Linked DNA regions of Homo sapiens: region 2 is linked to region 1. Evidence: promoter capture Hi-C in 16 types of primary human blood cells and fetal thymus (Javierre and others, 2016). All regions are on one chromosome and are shown on one strand. Each heading gives the region's core, a stretch centred on a gene start or on the middle of the fragment in contact. The rest is flanking DNA. Distances are from core to core; before and after follow the strand shown.

Region 1 (5,901 bases), core at 1,274-3,773:
TTGCGTGCATTACAAATATCTACATCCAGTGAAAGTTAGACTTTCAATGCTGCTCGGCAATTAATCCCTCATTTGATGATTCCTTTTTCCGTTCCCCATGACTATTGTTGTAAATCCTTATTACTCTCCTTCAGTTTCCAGGTCTAGCAGTTAGCCTCCTCCCGCTCTGCAAATGACTTAACAATCTACCTTGCAGAGGATATAAAAGCCATGAAATACAATTATCCCCAATTGCTTGCTTCTCCGTCTCTCCACACCTTCACCCAACCTCTCCTCCTTTTGGCTTATTATAGAGTGTCCATGCTGCTAATCCCTTAATATGTTGTAGGGCCCAGACACTATGTTATATTTCTTCCTAAGCCCAAGCCACAATGGCACTGGCCAGTTTACTTTTCTATCTCTGGGCTTTTGTTCATGCAACCTTCTTTTCCTAGAATTCTCTTCTCCCTAGGAAATTACAATTCATCCCTCAAGATTGTGCTAAAATGTCATCTTTTCTGTAAAGTAGCCCCCTCCCTGCAGCCGCCCCACGCAAAGAGTAATTTCTACCTCTCTAACACTTCCCCTCTACTTCATAAATACGGCATTTATGAATTGTATTTTCTAGCTAGCTGTATTTTATCCCCTATTAAAAGTAGGACCATGTCTTAATCATCTTTGTATTCCTAGAACTTGACAAACTAGGCATTTAACAAATGCTTAAATTCACTAACATGACAGCTATAGCTCCTCCAAGATTCCCCTTTCCTAACTTTCACATCTATAAGCAAATGTCCAGGTTCAAAATCTACCATATTTGCTTCCCTATTCCCTTATCAACATGAAATCTGCTACCACATTCTGCGATTTCCCCCCATCTACATGTAATTTATTCCTTTCTTTTCGCACTGCAAATATACTGACCCAGGTTCATATCAACTTTACTTAACCCTACAAAATCTGGTTCTCTTTGCAAGGTCCCACAACCCTGAACAACAAGATAATTTTAAAAGACAGTTTGTATCACATCACGCTTTTACTCAACGTTTTCCTAATGTTCTCAAAAACATTCCACTCCAAACACTCTGTTCATTTTGGACATCAAATCTTCACTTTGGTACTTTCCATGTAAGGAATATCATCTCCGCCCTATCCAAACCCTAATTACACTTCATGGTTTACATGAAGTTGATTCAATGAAGATCTTAATCCAAAGTGATCTCTCCTCTAAATTTCTACAGCACTTACTGCATTTGCCGTCTAATGGGCTCATTAAATCATAAGCTTCTCTATCTCAAGAATTCTCTTAAAGAAGGGAGGGATGTTCATCATAGTTTTGTGTTTAGTGGATACTTAAATATCTATTAAGGTAATTAGAACTGAATAGTAAAAACTGGTCAAATGAATAATAGGGACCAACGTTTACCACATACTCCTTCTCTGGCTAAAAGCAACTGAGTGTACAGTAAGAGGCAAAACAAGACAGGATTGGGCATACCTCATAAAGGAGTTAGCCATAATGAAAAGCAGTATGTGACTCTTCATTCATTCAGCAAATACTCATGCTTATTAGGTGGCAGACACTATTCTAGGTTACAGTAGTCAACATGACAGATATGTTTATGAAGACCTGAAGCCGGGTGTTTCTATGGCATTTACATCCTAAGAGTCGAGTGATTAACTCTTCAGTCTTTACGGTACTTTTCTGAAAGTCAGTAAATAAATCCCTAGAGGTCCTCTAAAATTATTCTCCAGGTCTGAGAACCCATATCTGACCACGTTCCAAAGGCAGCCATCCACTGCTTACTCTGTACTGGTTGTTTCCTTCAGCTCAGTTGGACCACCACACTGTGTGACAAATAGCCTGTCAGTGTGAGTGCCCGTGTGCATTGGGCCCTGTATGCTGCTGAGATATATTAATGCATGAAGCATTGCCATCTAGAAGATATAACTGTGCAAGGAAATAGAGAAATACACTTAAGAGATTTGGCGGGGGGTGGGGGGGAGTTGGGGTTGGGGGGCCGGGATGTGAATTTGGACAAAGAGGAAGGCACAGTCACGCTCTCCTCTCCTGGACCACGCCAAAGAGCTTACGATCAGGGTCATTTTGCACAAACAAAATCTGGTTCCGATGGGCGGAACCGTAATGGGGCCCGTGAGGACTGCCCTCCCAGCTCCGCATTCTCCTAGACCCGAGGACAAGGGACTGGAGAATGCTCTGACCAAACTTCGTCTTACCGGGACAAACGGGGAAAGGAAGGTCAGAAGGAGCGGTGCCCGACCCCAGGCGTGGAGACAGCAGCCGGACTGAGGAGCCGCCTTAGACCCTGGTGCCTGTCAGCTCGTCTGTCCGCCGCCGCCGGGACTACCGGGCAGCCGCGGCCGAAGGCTTACCGCAAGGCCGGACTGAGCCTGGCTGTGCCGAGGCGGGTCTTCCAAAACGGAGACCGGATGGGGGCCACTAGGATACGCCCCTCAATAAAGCGTTGAACGGGAAGCGGCCGTTCCCCCAACACTTCCTATATCCGGGCACGTGACAAACTCCGCGCCGGAAGTTGACCGCGTAGAGAAGGAAGAAGCAGCGATGGGAGAAAAAGGGAGCGGCCAATAGACGCGGAGGGGCGGGGCGCCAACCGACGGGCGTGGCCAGGCGGAACAAGGCCTCATTGGAGGGGCGTGTCAGGGAAGGGCAGGGGCGGGGCCTTTGTGGCACAGAAACTGACTTGGGAGTTGGGGATTAAGAGTTATTTATTCAGATATTTGCAGCAATTCATTTAAGAAGAAATTCGATTAAATGTTTTCTTTTTTCATACGTAAAGCTCTATTAACTCTAGATCTTTGCTACTTAAACTTTGGAGAGCTTAAATGAGTTAAATCAGAATCCCTGCGGGTGGGACCCAGACATCAGTACTTTTAATATCTTCCCAGATGATTCTCATATGCAGCTAAGGTCAAGAACCATTGTCCTCATGACCTTGATACTCAAAGTGTGGTCCGTGGATCAGCTGCTTGGGTATCATCTGGGGGCTTTTTAGGAAATGCAGCCTCTCTGGCTCACTTCAGATCTACTGAATCAGAATCTGCATCTTAGCAAGATGATGCTTATGCATATTTAAGTTTGGGATGCATAAATGATGCCAATGTTGCTGGTTGCAGGTAGGTGTTTTATTTATTCAATATTCCTGGCACCTTTTTTTTTTAATGCTAGGCACTTTGATTCCAGGTACAGAGGTGATTCAGGCATGAATCTTAACCTAAAGGAGTTCACAGTGTGGTAGGACTAGACAAGGTGTAGGTACAAATATATATAAAATAGGACACAAAATAAGTGACCAAAGAGAGGTACAGATCAGATAAATGTGCTAGAAATTTAAATGAGCAAACAGTAGTTAGAATACTTTTCACTTTCATCAAATGACTTCCCTTTTAAGAGCAGGATCTGGTTATATCTTTACAAAGACCCTTTCCTGCTTGGCACCGGAATGCTTACTGTGGACACTCTATGACAATTGCATGTGTTTTTTGGTCCTATTATCTTTCTTTTATTTACCTGTATGTTTATAGCCCTCCTCAAAGTTGGGAAATGAATTGCATTTCAGAAGCCTAGATCTCTTTCTTGAACCTCAAGATTTGTGTATATACTGCCCATCGCCTGACATTTCCACTTGGATGTCTTATAGACACCTCAAACTTGTGTGTCCAAAAATTAAATTATCCTCTCTCCTCTTGGATTCCCTGCAAAGTGACACTTATATGCAATAGTTTATTTGGAAATTTGATCCCAGGGAGCAAAATGAGGGAAGAGGAAGAAGACAAAACAAAAAGGGAGATGCAGTATAAGAATGTGTTACTGAGTTGGTCATCACCATATTTGAATGTTTTCTTAGTCCCTTAGGACCTTCTAAGAAGCTTTATGAAATGAGTCTCAGAACTGTCCATTAAAGGAAAGAACGGAGGAAGCATTTGTATGTCGGCTCCTGTCCTCTTTGATCGAAGGTTAATGCCCTTGGGCATTAACTACTTCACACTTACAAATCGCACAGTTGTGAATGCCAAGCTGACTCCCACATCAGAGACATGCTGGGGCAGGAAGTGAGAGGAGAGGTGCTGGTATTTCGCACTTGTTCAAAGGTCATCAAACCTGCTCCGAGCAGGTTGCTGCAGCAGTGGTTAGAATAATAGGCTGAAGGGATTTGAAGTCATGGCCTAAGTTGCACAGAAGGACATAGAAGGTGTCCATATCTTGCAGCACTCTGATCTGCCTGTGTGCTCTGTTATGTTCAGTCCTTCACAGAGGTCTCTTCAAGGTGATGGCCAGCCACAATCTCAGCAAAGCCTTAATATAAGAGAGTTAATAGAATAAGCTTCAGTTTTTACTGCTGCATCAATGTCAGGACCATACTTGTATTAACTCCCTCTTCCACTACCCATTCTAATTTTCCCTCACCATTGACCAGCACATCAGCTGGTCTAAGTTGTTTCTCTGGTGAAATAGCCCCCACCTTCAGCCTTTATTTTCCTTTCTCTGGTTAAGCCATGATTGCTGTAATTACCTGTTCAAATTATCCCTGGGTACAGAAACACCTAGTAAGCCCCAGCGAATTATTTGGATTCCAAATTCCTCCCTAGTGCTATTGTGGAGCAACAATCCTAGATCCTTTTGCTAATCACAGTTGATTACTCCCACGAGCATAGTAACTCCTTTCTTTGCCAGCTTGTCCACTTCCGTAAGAAGCACAAGGTAACTAAGTAAAAGTTTGAAGTGCAATGAATTCCATAGTGTTTATCCTGGTGGCAGCATTCCCCACTCAACTCCTGAAGAACCAATTATTGCAATCTAGCAAATACTAATTTTTTTTTTTTTGAGACAGAGTCTCGCTCTGTCACCCAGGCTGGAGTACACTTACATGATCTCAGCTCACTGCAACCTCCTACCTCCTGGGTTCAAGCAATTCTCATGCCTCAGTCTGCATGGCTTACTACCATGTTGCTTCCAAGTCTTTGCTCAAATGTTACCTCACTGAGGCCTTCCAAGAGAACCCTATGTAAAATAGTTCCCCAACCACCCTCCTCCCAGTATTTTTTATCTTCCTTTTTTACTTTTGTTCTTCATGGTTCTTGCTACATTTTGACATATTGTATATGTTGTTTGTTCATTTGCTGTTTCTCTAGAATGAAGTTTTATGAAAGCAAAGATTTTTATCTGTTTTTTTCAGTGATGTATCTCTGATTCCTGGAACTCAGAATAATATCTAACAATTACATAGCACTTATTATGTGCTATGTACTATTCTAAGCATTTTACATGTATTAATTAACTTAATCATCACAACTACCCTGTGAGGAAGGAATCTTTATTATCCTCATTTTAAAACCAGAAAACTGAGGAACAAATTGTCTAGTCCTAGGACACGTGGTATACCATGGTAGTCTCTCAATGAATATCTTTATGTCATCACAGCCTACTGCATGAAGTAGACTTAAGAAGCAACATGAAATAATGAAAAGTATATCATTACTGGAATTGACACAGGAGTGGGGCAGGGAAGTGCTGGGAAGGGAAGGACGTGGGCCCTGGCTAGGGCTCCACCACTGGGCCTGTGCCCATGGACCTAGGTGAGGACAGGCACTCCTGCCTTCCTGCCCAAATGTTGCATTTTCCAAGACCACCCTGGCCTGCCACACCCCTGCCTTGTGCCTATAAAAACCCTGAGACCCTAGCAGGCAGAGACACAAGCAGCTGGATGTTGAGAAGAACATATTGGCGGAAGAACACACAAGCGGCTGGACGTGCATAGAAGCGTGCCAGGGGAAGAGCACACAACAGATGCAGGCAGGCCATCAACAGGCAGGCCATCCACCGGCAGAATGATGCAGATTTTAGCCCCAGGTGGTCAGGGGAGATCTGGGCTGCTGAGCAGC
Region 2 (5,775 bases), core at 186-2,685, 1.1 Mb before region 1:
TCTTGAGGTGACAGGTATGCTAAGTACCCTAATTTGATCATTACACATTGTATACACGTATCAAAATATCACATTGCATCCCACACATGCATAATTATTAAATAAAATTGAAGGCCGGGCACAGTGGCTCACGCCTGTAATCCCAGCACTTTTGGAGGCCGAGGCGGGCGGATCACGAGGTCAGGAGATCGAGACCATCCTGGCTAACACGGTGAAACCCCATCTCTACTAAAAATACAAAAAAAAAATTAGCCGGGCGCGGTGGCGGGCGCCTGTAGTCCCAGCTACTCGGGAGGCTGAGGCAGGAGAATGGCGTGAACCCAGGAGGCGGAGCTTGCACTGAGCCGAGATCATGCCACTGCACTGCAGCCTGGTGACAGGGCAAGACTCCGTCTCAAAAAAAAAAAAAAAAAAAAATATATATATATATATACACACACACACACACATATACATACACACACACACACACACACACACACACACACATGAACTGAAATAGAGGTTTTCCAAGATAGCTGTAAAAATTAAATCAAGCAATCTGAGTAACAGAATTGGCATACAGCAAATATTTAAGAACTGCTAGCTACTACCAGGTTCCATTATTATAAGCAACCTATGCTTATAACTATACCAGTGGTCTGCAGCTTCTAAGCTGGTACCCAATGATTCCTGCCTCCTACTATTGCCCTTGTAATACCCTCTTTAGTGTGAGCTGGACATACTGACTTGCAACCAACAAAAAGAACATGGCAAAAATGACAGGATGTTGCTACCACTTTTAAGTTATAAAAGACTGATTTCCACCTTGCTCGTACTCTCTATGGCTCTTTTTGCTTACTCTCTCTGAAGAAGCAAGCTGCTATGCTGCTGTCAGCTGCTATACGCAGAGGCCCACATGGCAAGGAACAAAGAAAGGCTTCCAGCCAACAGCGAGCAAAGACCTGGGACTCAGTCCAACAGCCAATGAAGAACTAAATCCTGCAGACAACCATGGGAATGACTCTTGAGATTACGGCAGCCCAGGGAAACATCTGATTGCAGCCTTGTGAGAGTTGCTTGGCCAAAAGACCCAGCTAAGCTACACCCAGATTCCTGACTCACAGAAGCCGTGAGATGATAAATGTTGCTAGAGGAGTAATTTGTTACACAGCGATAGGTAAACAATACGATATATAACAACAATATGCTCCAGAAAAGCTTCTATGGACAAAGAAGGCAGTCTAGTAAATTTTAAAACAAAGCACAAAGGAATAAACCCAAATAGCATCATATCCAGTCCATACCTGTCCTCCTCTTGCCAGCATGCTAACCCATATAGTACTGGTGGGTCGGGAAGAATTCTCAAGACATGATCTACACTCTCCTGTGTAGGCATATTTAGAATCCTTTTTGGCAAACACATAAACTGTGTTTGTTGCCATTTTCTCTTGGGCAATCAGAACCTATTTGGACAATAAGAAAGTTACAGCCATAAAATCCAAAACATCACTGAAGAGAAAAGAGAGTAAAATCTGCATCTTAATTTAATCTGACCATATAGGCTCACTGAAATATTTAATTCTTCAACTTTACAAACTCCATTTTGCATAAATGCTTCATAGAAATACATAAACTCCAAAACTGACCAAATTCCCAGTGCATGTTATATACAGCTAAATAAAGCTTTGGTTTATATAAGTTTAGCTGTCATACCCTAAACAAGTCAACTGTCAGTGCCAGGTTATCCTGCAGGAAAATCTTTCTTTCTTTTTTTTTTTTTTTTCATTTCAACTTTAAACTAAATTTTAACTACCATTTTGTAATTTTTTAAAATAATGTTACTATACCTTTTCTGATCCATTAATAATGAAATAGCCACCAGGATCCAAAGGGCATTCATTTAACTCACAAAGATCACGATCTGTCAAGCCATTCAAAAGGCAGTAAGTTGACCGCAACATAATTGGAATTTTTCCTATAAAAGTTTTCTGATGCTGAGTCTGAAGTTGTTCTTCACCTTCTTTAATGACTGTTTTTGTTATATCAACATAAAGCGGAGCAGAATACCTTTGAAAATAAAAGTAGATCACAGTTAAGCAATAGGGTATCTGTTAAAACAAATCCTCAAGTGGTTAAAATTACATTTTCAAAATTCTATTTCAGTATCTACTGCTGACAAGGAAAAATTCTTTCTTACGTGAGATTCCTTAATCTAGCTTCATTGGGCATCATTGGTGAAGGAGCACCATCTCTTTCCCAATGGGTAGGCTTGGAAAGATAAATTTGTTCAAACTTCAGCAAATATCGTGGCTGAAATTAAACAAAAAAACATGAAAAGGGTAAATAATTTTTTCCATAAAAGTTTTAGTGATTCCATTTTAATTGACATTAACATTTTAAGTACAAGCAACTCTACAAACTGGCAAAATTAATCCATTTTACTGAAATGGGGACTTCCCAAAGTCAATATCCATATTGCATAGACGTTAAGTTTTAAACCAAATCACTTTCTTTTTTCCTCTTTTCTTAAAAATTTTTTTTCACATTAGACAGGTAATGTGCTAACAAGGTTTGTAACAAGGTTTAAGGAAGGCACATCTCACACCCAATCATCACACACTTATCAACTACAGAAGGATCTGCTAATTGCTTTCTTAAGGCAGAAGACAAAAAGAGACTTAATATACTAAAAGTAAAGACTGTACACATCATGTGCTCTGAGTTTATATGAAACAGTTAAAATGGATTTACATTAATGATCTACATAGTTTCTTGTGCCCTCTCCTTGGTAAGCATCATCAAAAATACAAAGTGACCAGAGAACAAAGATAACAAATCCAGACAACTAGAACTATGCTCTAATCTAATCAATAGAACATTTTAAAAAATAAACCTCTCTTCAGTTAAATATACAAATTAATCTGTCAAAGGAGTAGAGTTAACAAAAGAAAAAGATTTTTTTATTTTAAAAAACACACAAAATATCCTAATCATTCTATATAAAGGGCTGAGAATTTCCAACTCTGGCTGGAATATAGCTTAGTTCATAGAAAAAAAAAGAAATTTTTCAATTAAACATTCACTTGCTGCCTAATAAAACAAGATCCATGAGGACAACTTTCTAGAGATAAATGGATAGTGTACTTTTCTCTAAATCAAGTCTCAGAGAAGAAAACAGGAGTAAGCAGACGTTTTACTAATGATTAATTATTGACACTCAAGTCTCCCAAGCTGGGCTGGATAAAGGGCAAAGAGAACGGTGGTGATAACGAACCAAAGGGAAGCCAATCCTCTACTCCTTATCTGTGCCATCATCTAGTCTAGGTCATTATTATCTTAATCATAGGCTATTCTAAGATTTTTATCTCCTCCAGTCTCTTTTGTTTTGTTTCATTTTGTTTTGTTTTGTTTGAGACAGGGTCTCACTCTGTCACCCAGGATGGAGTGCAGTGGCGTGATCTCGGCTCACTGCAGCCTCCACCTCCTGGGTTCAAGTGATTCTCCTGCCTCAGCCTCCCAAGTAGCTGGGACTACAGGCGCACCACCAGGCCCGGCTAATTTTTGTATTTTTTGGTAGAGATGGGGCTTCACCAAGCTGGCCAGGATGGTCTCAAACTCCTGGCCTCAAGAGATCTGCCTGCCTAGGCCTCCCAAAGTGCTGGGATTACAGGCATGAGCCACCACATCTGGCCTCCTCTAGCCTCTTTCTATTCCAAGCAAGCATCACTTTCCAAAGTAACTTTTCTAAAATAATGCTTTATGTATATTCTTTGACAGTCTCTCAGTAATTCCTCATAACATCCAATGACATTCAAAGCTTTCAACAATCGGGTTCCATCTTATCTTCCTAATGCCTATTAAAAATAGAGAAGCCCTGTAATCCCAGCACTTTGGGAGGCCAAGGAGGGCAGATCATGAGGTCAGGAGATCGAGACCATCCTGGCTAATACGGCAAAACCCTGTCTCTACTAAAAATACAAAAAAATAATAGCCGGGCGTGGTGGCAGGCGCCTGTAGTCCCAGCAACTCAAAAAGCTGAGGCAGGAGAATGGCGTGAACCCGGAAGGCGGAGCCTGCAGTGAGCCGAGATCGCGCCACTGCATTCCAGCCTGGCCAACAGGGCGAGACTCTGTCTCAAAAAAAAAAAAAAAAATAGATAAGCCAAAATCACATACTGATCATTGTGGTCCCCAGCCTAAATACACCAAGTATTTTCTTTTCTTTTTTTTTTTTTTTTTTTTTTTTTTTTGAGACAGAGTCTCGACCTCTCGCCCAGGCTGGAGTGCAGTGGCGTGATCTCAGCTCGCTGCAACCTCCGTCTCCCACGTTCAAGCAATTCTCCTGTCTCAGCCTCCCTAGTAGCTGGGACTACAGGTGCCTGGCACCACACCCGGCTAATTTTTGTACTTTACTAGTAGAGACGGGGTTTCACCATATTGGCCAGGCTGGTCTCAAACTCTTGAGCTCAGGTGATCTGCCCGCCTCGGCCTCCCAAAGTGCTAAAATTATAGGCATGAGCCATCGCACCGGCCACACCAAATATTTCCTTGCTGAAATGACTAAGCACCTTTTCTCTTCTAAGAGAGTTCTTCATAGTAAATTTAAGTCTCTTCCATCTTTTCTACTAAGCTCTGATAACTAGGTGTTAGAGATCTACTCCTCTTTTAGTACTTCTGTTACTGGCACGTTCAATTTGCTATGTTATATTGTTATCTGGCTTGTTATACAAAGACCATGAAGAAAAAATGACCCAACAAGCCAGGTGCAGTGGCTCATGCCTATAATCTCAGCACTCTGGGAGGCTGAAGCAGGTGGATCACTTGAGGTCAGGAGTTGGAGATCGGCCTGGCCAACATGTGAAACACCATCTCTACTAAAAATACAAAAAAATTAGCCAAGCATGGTGGTGGGCACCTATAGACCCTGTAAAAAAGAAAAAAATGACCCAAGAATAAAAAAGAAACTTAATGTCCCCCTTTCCAGCACAGCCCTAGAAGAGCCAATCACTTTCATTCTTAACAGCAAAATTCTGTACAGCATGTCCAACTAAAATGGAAATAACAGACCAGCACTTAGGAGATAAGCTACACAGAAGAGAAACTGATCAGGCTAGAAACAATGAACTCTCCCTGTGTCTAGCTCTATTTTGGGGGCTTTCCCTACCTCACTTTGTTTCTCAGTTTTCCCTGTCTCTCAAAGTCCAATATGTTCCAACAGCTGCCTCTCAACTTCTCTAAAACTGGGACAGTCATTATTTTGGACTACATCCTTCTTATAATCACTCATGTAAAACCAAATTATAAAATTATACCCTTAGTATGATTTTAACAATGCTAAAAAACCTGCATATATGTGAGCAAAAGCTACAAGAAACTTAGTAAAGATAGCTGCTATGTTTGGGTGATTTTCCTTTCTTATCTCATATGGTTATAATAATGTACTTCATGCAATATATAAAATCAGATGAAAATTCCTTCAAACATTTTTTATTATTTTTACACTGTGAGAGAAAAAAGCGGGGTTATCTATCTAAAGCAATGTGACCATCTCTGGCTCACTTCTCTTATTTGTTCATATTTCAGAGTCCTCTCTTCCCAGCTATTCAATACCTACTATGTGAATAAGGATGGGATAACTTGCAAAAAAACACACCTCTTCATTAGAGAAAATAAATCAGAAAGTGATTGACGGTGCTGTAAGTACTTTGCTAAAAGCTCCAACTGACTTTTTTTAACCTTTAAGCCAGGTAAGAGAAGGGCTAAAATTTCAAACCAATACGCTTCTTGTACCTGT

What was found. The method cuts DNA at HindIII sites, captures the fragments that hold promoters and counts their contacts. A CHiCAGO score of 5 or more calls a contact.
Region 2: a contact is called between a fragment that was not itself captured here and the fragment with the promoter of EXOC1 in region 1, in 1 of 17 cell types (total B cells). The highest score is 5.7, in total B cells.

Annotation. Positions count from the first base shown.
Region 1 is chr4:55,850,270-55,856,170 of GRCh38, reverse strand. EXOC1 (exocyst complex component 1) reads right to left here and starts at 2,523. Exons shown (of 19, transcript NM_001024924.2): 1 at 2,218-2,523. RefSeq lists a silencer at 2,632-2,731. The HindIII fragment of the contact is 2,625 bases long and covers 1,266-3,890 here.
Region 2 is chr4:56,990,921-56,996,695 of GRCh38, reverse strand. It overlaps POLR2B (RNA polymerase II subunit B), which reads right to left. Exons shown (of 25, transcript NM_000938.3): 4 at 2,180-2,292; 5 at 1,830-2,049; 6 at 1,287-1,445. It also overlaps the pseudogene LOC124900913. Among named protein-coding and RNA genes, the nearest start is that of POLR2B, 15 kb to the right of the region's middle. The HindIII fragment of the contact is 465 bases long and covers 1,203-1,667 here.